Linked DNA regions of Homo sapiens: region 2 is linked to region 1. Evidence: promoter capture Hi-C in 16 types of primary human blood cells and fetal thymus (Javierre and others, 2016). All regions are on one chromosome and are shown on one strand. The core of a region is centred on a gene start or on the middle of the fragment in contact, and the rest is flanking DNA. Distances in the headings are between cores, read along the strand shown.

What was found. Contacts are between HindIII fragments. The CHiCAGO score rates a contact against its expected background, and 5 or more counts as called.
Region 2: a contact is called between a fragment that was not itself captured here and the fragment with the promoter of ERBB4 in region 1, in 2 of 17 cell types (fetal thymus and endothelial precursors). The highest score is 7.6, in fetal thymus.

Annotation. Positions count from the first base shown.
Region 1 is chr2:212,537,529-212,542,570 of GRCh38, forward strand. ERBB4 (erb-b2 receptor tyrosine kinase 4) reads right to left here and starts at 1,274. Exons shown (of 28, transcript NM_005235.3): 1 at 921-1,274. The coding sequence starts at 1,002. RefSeq lists an enhancer at 1-305. The HindIII fragment of the contact is 6,206 bases long and covers 1-2,960 here.
Region 2 is chr2:211,756,261-211,760,807 of GRCh38, forward strand. The region is part of intron 4 of ERBB4 (erb-b2 receptor tyrosine kinase 4); the gene reads right to left. Among named protein-coding and RNA genes, the nearest start is that of MIR548F2, 670 kb to the right of the region's middle. The HindIII fragment of the contact is 671 bases long and covers 2,164-2,834 here.

The DNA.
Region 1 (5,042 bases), core at 24-2,523:
CGAGCTCTCCAGCAAGCAGTGGCCGCGCACCCATCGCCGCTGCCGCTTTCGCCTCGGGTGGATCCAGTGACCCGCAGGCTCGGCAGCCTGGCCGGGCAGTAAACAGACAAGTTTGAAGGACTCCGGCCAATAGCAAGTTGAACTACAGGAAGAACTCTTCCCGGAGCCAAACACGGCAACCGACGGGAAGGCCGGGCTTCTGGCTCAAGTGTGCCAAGCCTTTTTTTTTTTTTTTAAGAGGTCAGGCAGGCGAGTAAGCGCCCCTCAAGTCAATGGGGAGAGGGCTCCGGGAAGCCGGCGGAAGAGGCCCAGAACTCCGGGCCCCGGACCGAGGCGCGCCCGCCTGCTGCACTCCGGCTGCCCGGGCTGGGCGCGAGTTGCGTCTGACGCCACAAGGCTCGGGCGACTGGGGGCGCAGCGGTCGCCAGCAGCACACACAGGTGCAAAGCCCGATTTTCTGAGCGCCGCTCTCCACCGCCCTTCGGGCTCGGCTCGGGAGAGGCCCAGCCAGCACCGCCCCAGGACCGCGGCCCCGGCGGTGCGGGTTCTGCCCTCGGGGACCCGACAGGGACAGAAGAGTCTCCTCTGACTGGGGATTTGGGTCTCCCATGTCCCGAACAACAGGCGCCACCAGAAGGGATCCCGCTTAGGCTCCCAAACAAAACGCTCGGGAAAGAAAAGCAGGGGGTTAAGGAGAGAAAAGAGGGACTCAGAGTGATTTTTCACGATAAATAAAGCAAACGCACACATACAGGGTAAGTTTCAAATGGAAAGAGGGGTGACCGAAAGCCCAGGGAAGAGGCCCCGGTCAAGCGGTCCCTCCACGCCTCCCGGGATGGGTGAAGAGGGCAGGGGAGCCACTCGAGGCAGCCCCGCCGGCGGCTGCAGGTTCGGCGACCGGAGTGCCAGAAGGAACCCACCTGACTGAGAATCGCTGGGCTGGACGGTCCCCGCCGCCACGAGAAGGCTCACCCAGACCCAAAGTCCTGTCGCCGGCTTCATTTTTTGGAAGTCTCAGATCCCGTGCTGACAATTACATGTCCAAATGGCATATCCCCCTTTCGGGCACGCGGAGGAGATCCCCCAGCCGGGCGCGCGTGGGGGTGCGAGGGGGGCGGGCGCGGCGCGCGCGGTGTGGCGACTCCCAGGGCGGGCGACCGAGTCCGCGCCCGCGGGTCCAGGGCCGGGGCCCGAGGAGGGGGCGAGTGTGAGCGCGTGTGTGCGCGTGTGGGAGTGTGCTCGGTGTGTGCGCTTGGCGCTCTGGGCCGGACTGTGCAGCTATTTCCCCGCGTGAGCCTTCGCTTGCTCGCTCCCTCCTCACTTTCTCTCTCTCTCACTGGTTGGTCAACAATAAAAAAGGAAGGGGGGCGAAAGGTTTCCAAAAAAAGTTGATTGCAAAGAGGCGGTAGGTTTCCGGCCTCTCCCCGCAGCCGGGCTATGTTCTGCTCCTTCTTCAGTTTCCTTGCACCTCCAGTCCAAATCGGGAGGGGAGCGGGGCGGGGGGAGCTTCTCGCTTCTCCCCGGATCCCGTCCTTCTTTTTCCTCTCAGCTTTCCTCACACTTGTCCGGCGGCTGCGGTAATTAAAGCTCCGAGCGTCATTTCCAGCGCTCCGCGGTCTCCAGCTGCAGCCCACAGAGAAATTAATAAGACTCCAGAAAAAAAAAAAAAAAAGGTGCGGGGGGCGGTGGGAATAAAACAACCCTCCACGCAACCAGGCCGGCTCTGCTCAGCCGCGCAAACCCCGCCCATGCTCTGACCCAACTAGCCACGCCCTTCCCCCCCCCTTCCAAAGGGAAATCTTATTGGCTCAGCCACTCCCCAAAATCCTGGGCCTCCGGAGTTGGGAAAACACCTGTCAGGGAAAGGGAGCCTCTTGGTGGGGGCAGGGGAAGCTGGATTTAAAGGGCTCACCGAAGCCATGCACTGAAGCACTCGTCTTCCCTCCCTGGCAGAGGCCTGGGACAGCTGGCCTGCTGAGTGGACGGACCATTGGAGGGCCGCTTACGGAAATTTTTTTTTTTTTTAAACAAGAAAGTCAGCATTTTCTCCGTTGCCCCACGGTGCTCATCTACAGACAAGACTTTCCCTAGAAATAAAAGTCAATGTTGCTTTCAGCAAAAAGCCTCCGCCCGCAGTACTCTGCCACTCATGGTCCACAATTAGAAAGTACTTTAAAAGTGTGTACAGCAAGTAACTGGTAGCCCCTGAGGATTAGGTAGTGGTAGGGGTATAATCACCGCCCCGCCTCCCGCCCCCAGTTATGCCATCTCTCCGATTACTCCCACATTTCTAAACTGACCAACATTGAGCCAAACTAAACTTTCACATTTATAAAGGCATATCCTTTGATTTTTAGATTTTATGTTTTTTTTTCACCTTTGGAGTTCATTCTTATTAAGCAGATTCTAGTCCAAAGCCACTGATTTGATCTTAAAGGGCTAGAAATTGTCCCCAGCCTGAAAGAATTTAAGGAGGCCACATCAGAACATAATTAACCTTAAATGATTCTGTTTATTCTACAGTAGACCCAGCTTTAGGCCCCTTCCTTGTCCTCACTCTGCACATTCATGGTCCCTAATCTGGAGGTCATTGCTAGTTACGAAAGTCTCTGACCTTTTCTGAATCTAAAATATTCTGGGACTGGGTCATTTCAATGTACATATCCCTTGCCTTTTACAGCTCTGAAACCGCACCCTGGCAAGGGCCAGAATCTGCTGGGGGTAGTTATTGGTTTGCTATTTGTACAGGCATTCTATGTATGAATCACTTTCCTTTTTTGGTTTTTCTAGAAGCAGCAAATATATAAATAAAAAGTATCAGGGGAGCTTAAAAATCAAACCACCCTGCCTTTCATTTGAGACCTTGATCTCCATTTCCCACTCTCTTATCTATAGCCCCATCCCTTAAGAATTTCCATGGAGCTGAGAACAGATAGGAGGTACAGATGCCTGAAGCCTGAAGCTTTCCCTTTCTTAGACCCACAGCAAATAACAGGCTCCATGAAGACGCCCAACAAGCTGAGCGTGCGGTTTTACCAGAAGCAGCCTAGGGCAGAGAGGAACTAAGCCTAGAGCAGATGACGGAGACTTGACCAGAATGGTACTGATTGCAGCAAAACTGTGCACACTGCTCTTTGGGATTATCTTTGTTTTCTTTTCTTTTCTTTTTTTTAATTACTCTTTCTCTCTGTTTTCTCTTCTTTCATTCAATCTCTTCTCATTCCCCTTGTCTTAAATCCTTTTGAAATTCTCAGGCACCTCTCTTCCATAAAAGCTACTTCTTTTCAAAACTTACTTTCTGTCCCTAGAATGACAATTTAAATGAGAAAAACATCTTCCTTTTGTAAAAGTTTAAGTCTCTGTAGTAAAAAAAAAAAAAAAGTCTGGTTTCTGATGGCAATTATGTTGCACGAAGTGAAGGAATGGGCCAGGTGTGGTGGCTCATGCTTGTAATTCTAGCATTTTGGGAGGCTGAAGTGGGAGGATCCCTTGAGGCCAGAAGTTCCAGACCAACCTGGGCAACATAGTGAGACCTCAACTCTACCTTTTTTTTTTTTTTTTTTTAATGAGCTGGGTATGGTGGTGCACACCTGTAGTCTTAGCTATTGGGAGGCTGAGATGGGATAGAATTGCTTGAGCCCAGGAGTTAATAGTTACAGTGAGCTATGATCATGCCACTGCACTCCAACCTGGGAGATAGAGCAAGACCCTATCTCTGAAAAAAAAAAAGAGAGAAAAAGAAAAAGAAAAAAAAGACAAAGTGAATAAATGAGTTGCATATTTTCGCTTAAATTGTAGGGCAAAAACTTCATGGCCTGAATATTTTGGATTTTTTTATAGTTGTGCCAATTATGTTAGTTTTTGTTCCCCTGTCAATTTTATAGCTTTTCTATAACAGAATATCTTCTATATGCCCTGCTCTCACCCATATCTTCTAGAATAATTCTTGACAAAGGAGGATTTTCCATTAATATTCATTGGTTTAAAAAAACACTTAGTATATATTTTTGTGGATATTAAACAGCCCATACAAGGATTCACCTATTACATTACCCAACATACCCACAGTTTCCCTCTAATTCTGTTTGTTCTGCCTTGATCCCCATTTTACTCATTCTAACATTGAAACAACAATTTTAGATATGTGGCCACAGATGGGTATCTGAACAGCAGCCTATAAAATGATTTGACATCAAAGCTTTTGCCAAAAAAAGCATGATATATTTGATGGTGCCTTGTCTACCCAATCAGATTCCAGCTCAGATAATTTGAAATGTAGACAGGAAGGTAGTACCCTGTATGGGCAAGCCAAAGGATGAGAAAGAAGCCATGAGCTCAAGTCAAGAATCAGTTATTTCAGTGTCTACCCTCATTTGCTTCCCATCTCATCTAAGTCATTATAAGAAACAAATACCAGAGTAGGGAATATTTACTAGCTGATGTAGAAAGGACATGATACTTGGATTGTTAGAGGCCAAGATGAATCTCTGTATTTCTTTACTTTTCCATATAGCTTGATAATAAATCCCTATTAGGGGACCTAACTAGAATGTGTTGCTGTTACTCAGAACCTGCATAAAAATTATGTGGGTAACACAATGTGTTACTTAGCAAGCCACGGATGAATACCTGGAATTACCTGCTGAGTGCCCATTTTCCAGAAACAGCCCTTTCCTCAGTTCTACATGTTTAACTTGGATCTACCTCCGTGCTACAACAACTCCCACTCCCTGGCTCTAAGTTGGATCACTCAAAACACCAAGTTGAACCAAGTAAAATGCCTTGCTCACTGTTAATTGGATGGGACTTCCACTGAGTCCTTTATCTGGCAGTTTTTGTAAATGAAATAAAGAGTTTATATCCAGTCTTTCATGGATAGCTTTTGAGATCTAAAACTCCACATCTAGTTTTTCTTTCCTTCTATATAGGAATAACCAGGCCGTGGTAAGAATGAAGCTACTGTTTGAAAGAATCAAAATCTCAGATGGATCTGGAGAATATTCAAGCTCTTCCTGTGGGTTAGTTGTTCATGTCCCCTTTTG
Region 2 (4,547 bases), core at 1,249-3,748, 780 kb before region 1:
TTGCAGAAGGCTCTGCAGTTTAGTTTTGCTTGAACAATCTAGTTTGTCCAGCAGTAAAGGGAAGGGAAGGAGAATTTCAGGCTGAATAGCTAGCCTAAGCAATAACACAGAGGCATGGATGAGCACAACTGTTTGGGGCCATAATGAGTAGTTTAGGGTTTTTTGAGCATAGTTTGCATGAGTAATAGCAGCTGGAGCGTGAGCTTACAAAGTATCACGAAAGCCTTCTAAACAGTTTGGAGTTTACTCTGTGTGTGTATTATGGAGTTTAATGGGTATTATGGAGTTGGCCAAGGTCCTTGAACATTAAAATGATATAGTTTGACCTGTAGGGTAGAAAATGGTTTTGAGTCATGTTTCCCAAAAGTTAGTTTTGACACTTTAGTAGCTTGTGCAAGATGCTGATTTTATAGTCTGGTGAGGTACAGGAATCCCTAGTTTTAAAAAGCACTTCCAGAGATTCTGAGGTTGACGGTTCCAAAATGACAAAAGTATATATAAGATAATGGCTTGGCATATAATTCCAAACTGTTAGTATCATAGACATATTTTGAGACAATGCTTTAGTATTAGAGCTGATCAGATGCTTGGTAACCAAACTTTCAGACAAGCAGTGTAAAAATCTAGCAGTCTCTCATGTCTTAGAGTTTATTCTTTGATTTGTGGACACATTCCCATCAAATTGCATCTTTCTCCAGCAGTACTAAAATATACATATAGCTTTGTTTTTCACATTTAACTTACTGTAAACCACTCATATAATAGTAAAGTCTCAATATGATTTGAGCAAATGCTACATCAGTAGGAATTAATGGCATTACCATGATGTGGAATTGCTCTTCTTTATGAGATGTTAATACTTCCACTTGTTCTTATCTGACAATTCTCATTGTCATCTGTTTATTTGTATTCACTCTTCTGTTATGTGAGTTGACTTTACTTTTTATTCCAGTCTCAATTCAATTTTCCTATCCTGCCTCTTAATTTGAAAACTAAGTATAAAATGGAAACTTTAACTTTCATACATCTTGATACAAAAAGATGGGCAGGTATTCTTCCTTGCTAAAAAATATGAAGTTAAAAATGAAACTAAAAACATTTATCGTTGGGATTTTTCATCTTACAGTATATTACATCAGGAGTTATGAGGTCAAAATATATTAGGCAATTACTGTACAGGAAAAACAAATAAGTACGGTTAACCTTGCTAAACTTGATGTTTTTGTAAGCATCATCATGATATTCATTCAAGCAATTTATAGTCAAAATTTTAGAACAGCATATATACTCATGTGATCAAGATTAATTTCAAACAGAAGTGTAAAATGCACAGAAGTGTCTGCAGCGCTTCCATCTACCCCTCCCTCAGGGGCTCAACTCCCTCCTGCTAATTTGTGACTGCCAGTGCACAAAGTATCTTCTCCAGCATCACCTTAGACAGGATATCAGACAGATAGCTAATGGACAGGCCAGTTAATCTGGCACAAAAGTTGTGCAAAGGCTTGAAGATTCTAAAGTTACTTTGCAAATTTGTATTTTTCCTGAGGCCTTCTGGAAACATAGATCAATTATGAGGGGACATGACAGTGGTAGAAACCACAGCTACAAATAAAAGGCTGGGCAGGCTGGGGTGGGTAGACCTATGAGAGTGCCATTTTTCAAAATCTCTTAACTCATAAATGGAAGCAACCAGCTACTCCATTTGCAGGCTGAATATAGAACTGTTTCTACATATAGATTTAAGGAGAACAGATAGAGCAACACCATTTTACAGTTAAAAGAAAAATTGATGATAATCCATTTAGATCTAAGATTGTCGATTATCACTTACACGTACAAGCTCATGTGATTGTAAGAAGGACTAACAGTTAGAAATAACCTAATACATATTATGCCAAAAATGAAATAAACATGAACATACTAAATGCAATCTATTTCCCACCGAATGGAAAGATCTGCTCAATGCTGTCTATGATATTACTGTTCTGTATATTCTATGCTCCTTCCAACATGCCTTCAGAATGCTTTAGGCTACTGAAACCAATGGAAATGAACTTCAAAGAAAATCACATTAAAAGGTCTTAATGCTTTTTGGAAAAGTCATATGTTAATAACAAAATGTCTCAAAATAATAAAACATGAAATTTTTCCTAAAAGACTAAAAGCTTTTATATATGATACTGTCATATATTTGTTCCAAACCAGGCACTTTTAAAGCATTAATTATCACTGTTTATAGCTGCTAGCACAAAGTAGAATACAGAAATTCCACCTACTGTGGAACAGAATTAGTTCCAATCAATGTCAAATGTATTTCTGAGCATATAAATAAGGGGTCTGAACTAACTGAAAAACCTTACCTGAAAACATAAAGAATATACTGAGATGTGTCAGCTTTTTGAAACCAATAACAACAATAATAATGAGCACTTACTATGAGCTTGCCAGAGCCACCAAGGGTGTCCAGAAGCATCTTTCAGATGTACTCAATCTACATGATAACCCTTGGAGGTGTGCAGTGCACAACCTGTTCAGCTATATGTAGTGGTGGGCCTTCCAAGGATGTTCTAAGCATTTTGGATATATTAACTCATTTAATCCTCATATAACCTGAATAGTCTGGCACTCTCCAAAATTTGTATGTCCAGTCTAGACTCTGTGATATGCAAACTTATACTTCCAACTGCTTACGAACCATCTCCACTTGTGCAATTAGCAGGCACTTGAAAATACACATGTTCAAAACTAAATCCATACTCTTCCCACTCCAATCATACAAATTATTCCTGTACAGTCTTCCCCATCTCAGTCAATAGCAGCTCAATTCTTTCAGAAGCTTCTGCCAAAAACTTTGGAGTCATCCTCAGCTCTGTTTTCTTTCGTCTTACAGCCCAGATCCAAATTCATGAACATATCTCGTTGTCTCTAACTTCAAAATCTGTCTAGTATCCAATCATTTCTCACCACCTGCACCATTATCATTGTAATACAAACCACTATCATCTATTGCTTGGATTAATGCAATAACCTCTTATCCGGTGTCCTAGCTTCCACCCTGGCCCCTTTACAATCTCTTCTCAATATATTAGCCAGAGCGATCTTTTTAGTCAGACCATGTCAAATCTCCTAAGTTGCCATGTGCCTCATAGTACATGCCAAAGTCCTTACCACAGTCTTCAAGGACCTACAACACGTAGCCCTCTCCTCCCTGCCTCAGTATTTTCCTCCGGGCTTACTCCTCTCACTGTCATCTCCTGCTGTTCCTAGGACATACAAGGTTCACTCCCACTTAGGGTTCTTCTGTTTCCTCTTCCTCTCCTCCTCTAAGAGCCTATAAAGCAGGTTTACCCACTAACTTGCTCTTGTTAGATGTCACCTCTCCATGACTCCCCTGACCCACTACATTTAAATAGCAAACATTCCAGATAGATTTACTAGATTTTATTTCTAATAGATGTTCAAATTGGAAATGCTGTATAATGCATAAAAACATGAAAGAAGAAAAAAATTCATAACCTTGAATTTTGGTGTTTTTCATTTTCTAGAGTGTGTGTGTGTGTGTGTGTGTGTGTGTGTGTGTTGCATTTTAACACGATGTAATACTTTATACAGTTTTGTCATCTGCTATTTTCAGTTTACATTTTTATCCTAAACATTTTGGATGATATTAAATAAATATAATTTTATTTCTTTGGTAGATTTACCTTCCGTCATATAGACATGCCAAAATTCAATTAACTATTTTGCCTTATGAGATATTTTCACTGGTACATGTAGGAGATAAATACATATTTTTTAATGAAAATACACATTAAGAAAATACCACTAATTTCACATCATATTTTTCAGCAGATTTGTAGCTCATTAAAAGATTACTTAAACAATAGAAAGAATGTGACCATGTGTTTCATTGTGTCCTTGTGTAAAACACTGATGGGATCTGAAATAGATGAGGGGATTTGTAGATGACTGGCACATGTATCAGAACATTTGATAAAAGTATGATGTGCTAATTGGCCTGGATTGACGTCCTAGCTCCAGGAGTGTGCCAAAAGCTTCTGTACACATCTATCATATTTGACCTTTTAGTCACTGAGTTGCATAAAATGTTTGAAATACACTTATCATACTTGCAAATGACACAAATCTGGAAGGGGTAGTGAATACTCTTATGGAGAATAATCATTCAGATTTAGGAAGAACTTGGTGGAAGGAACAATAAGCTGAAATTAAAGCTATGATATTTAATAGGATCAATGTAAATTCTTGCATTTGTGGTTCTGAATCAACATTTCATGTAAGTATCAACAGATATGTACTCTTACATAAAGGCTCTCTGGCATGAGACACATTAGAATTTCAAATCTCACCTGTTACTGGTTGTGTCATTCCTCAGGCAGGTTAGTTAACTTATTTCACTTTGTTTTTATACTTTGGACTTAAATGTTTATCCTAAAAATGGAGGTGTACACTATACTGCATACTCCAATCTATACAGCATGATCAACATCATCAACCTCACCACATCATCTAATGCTTACTGAGCA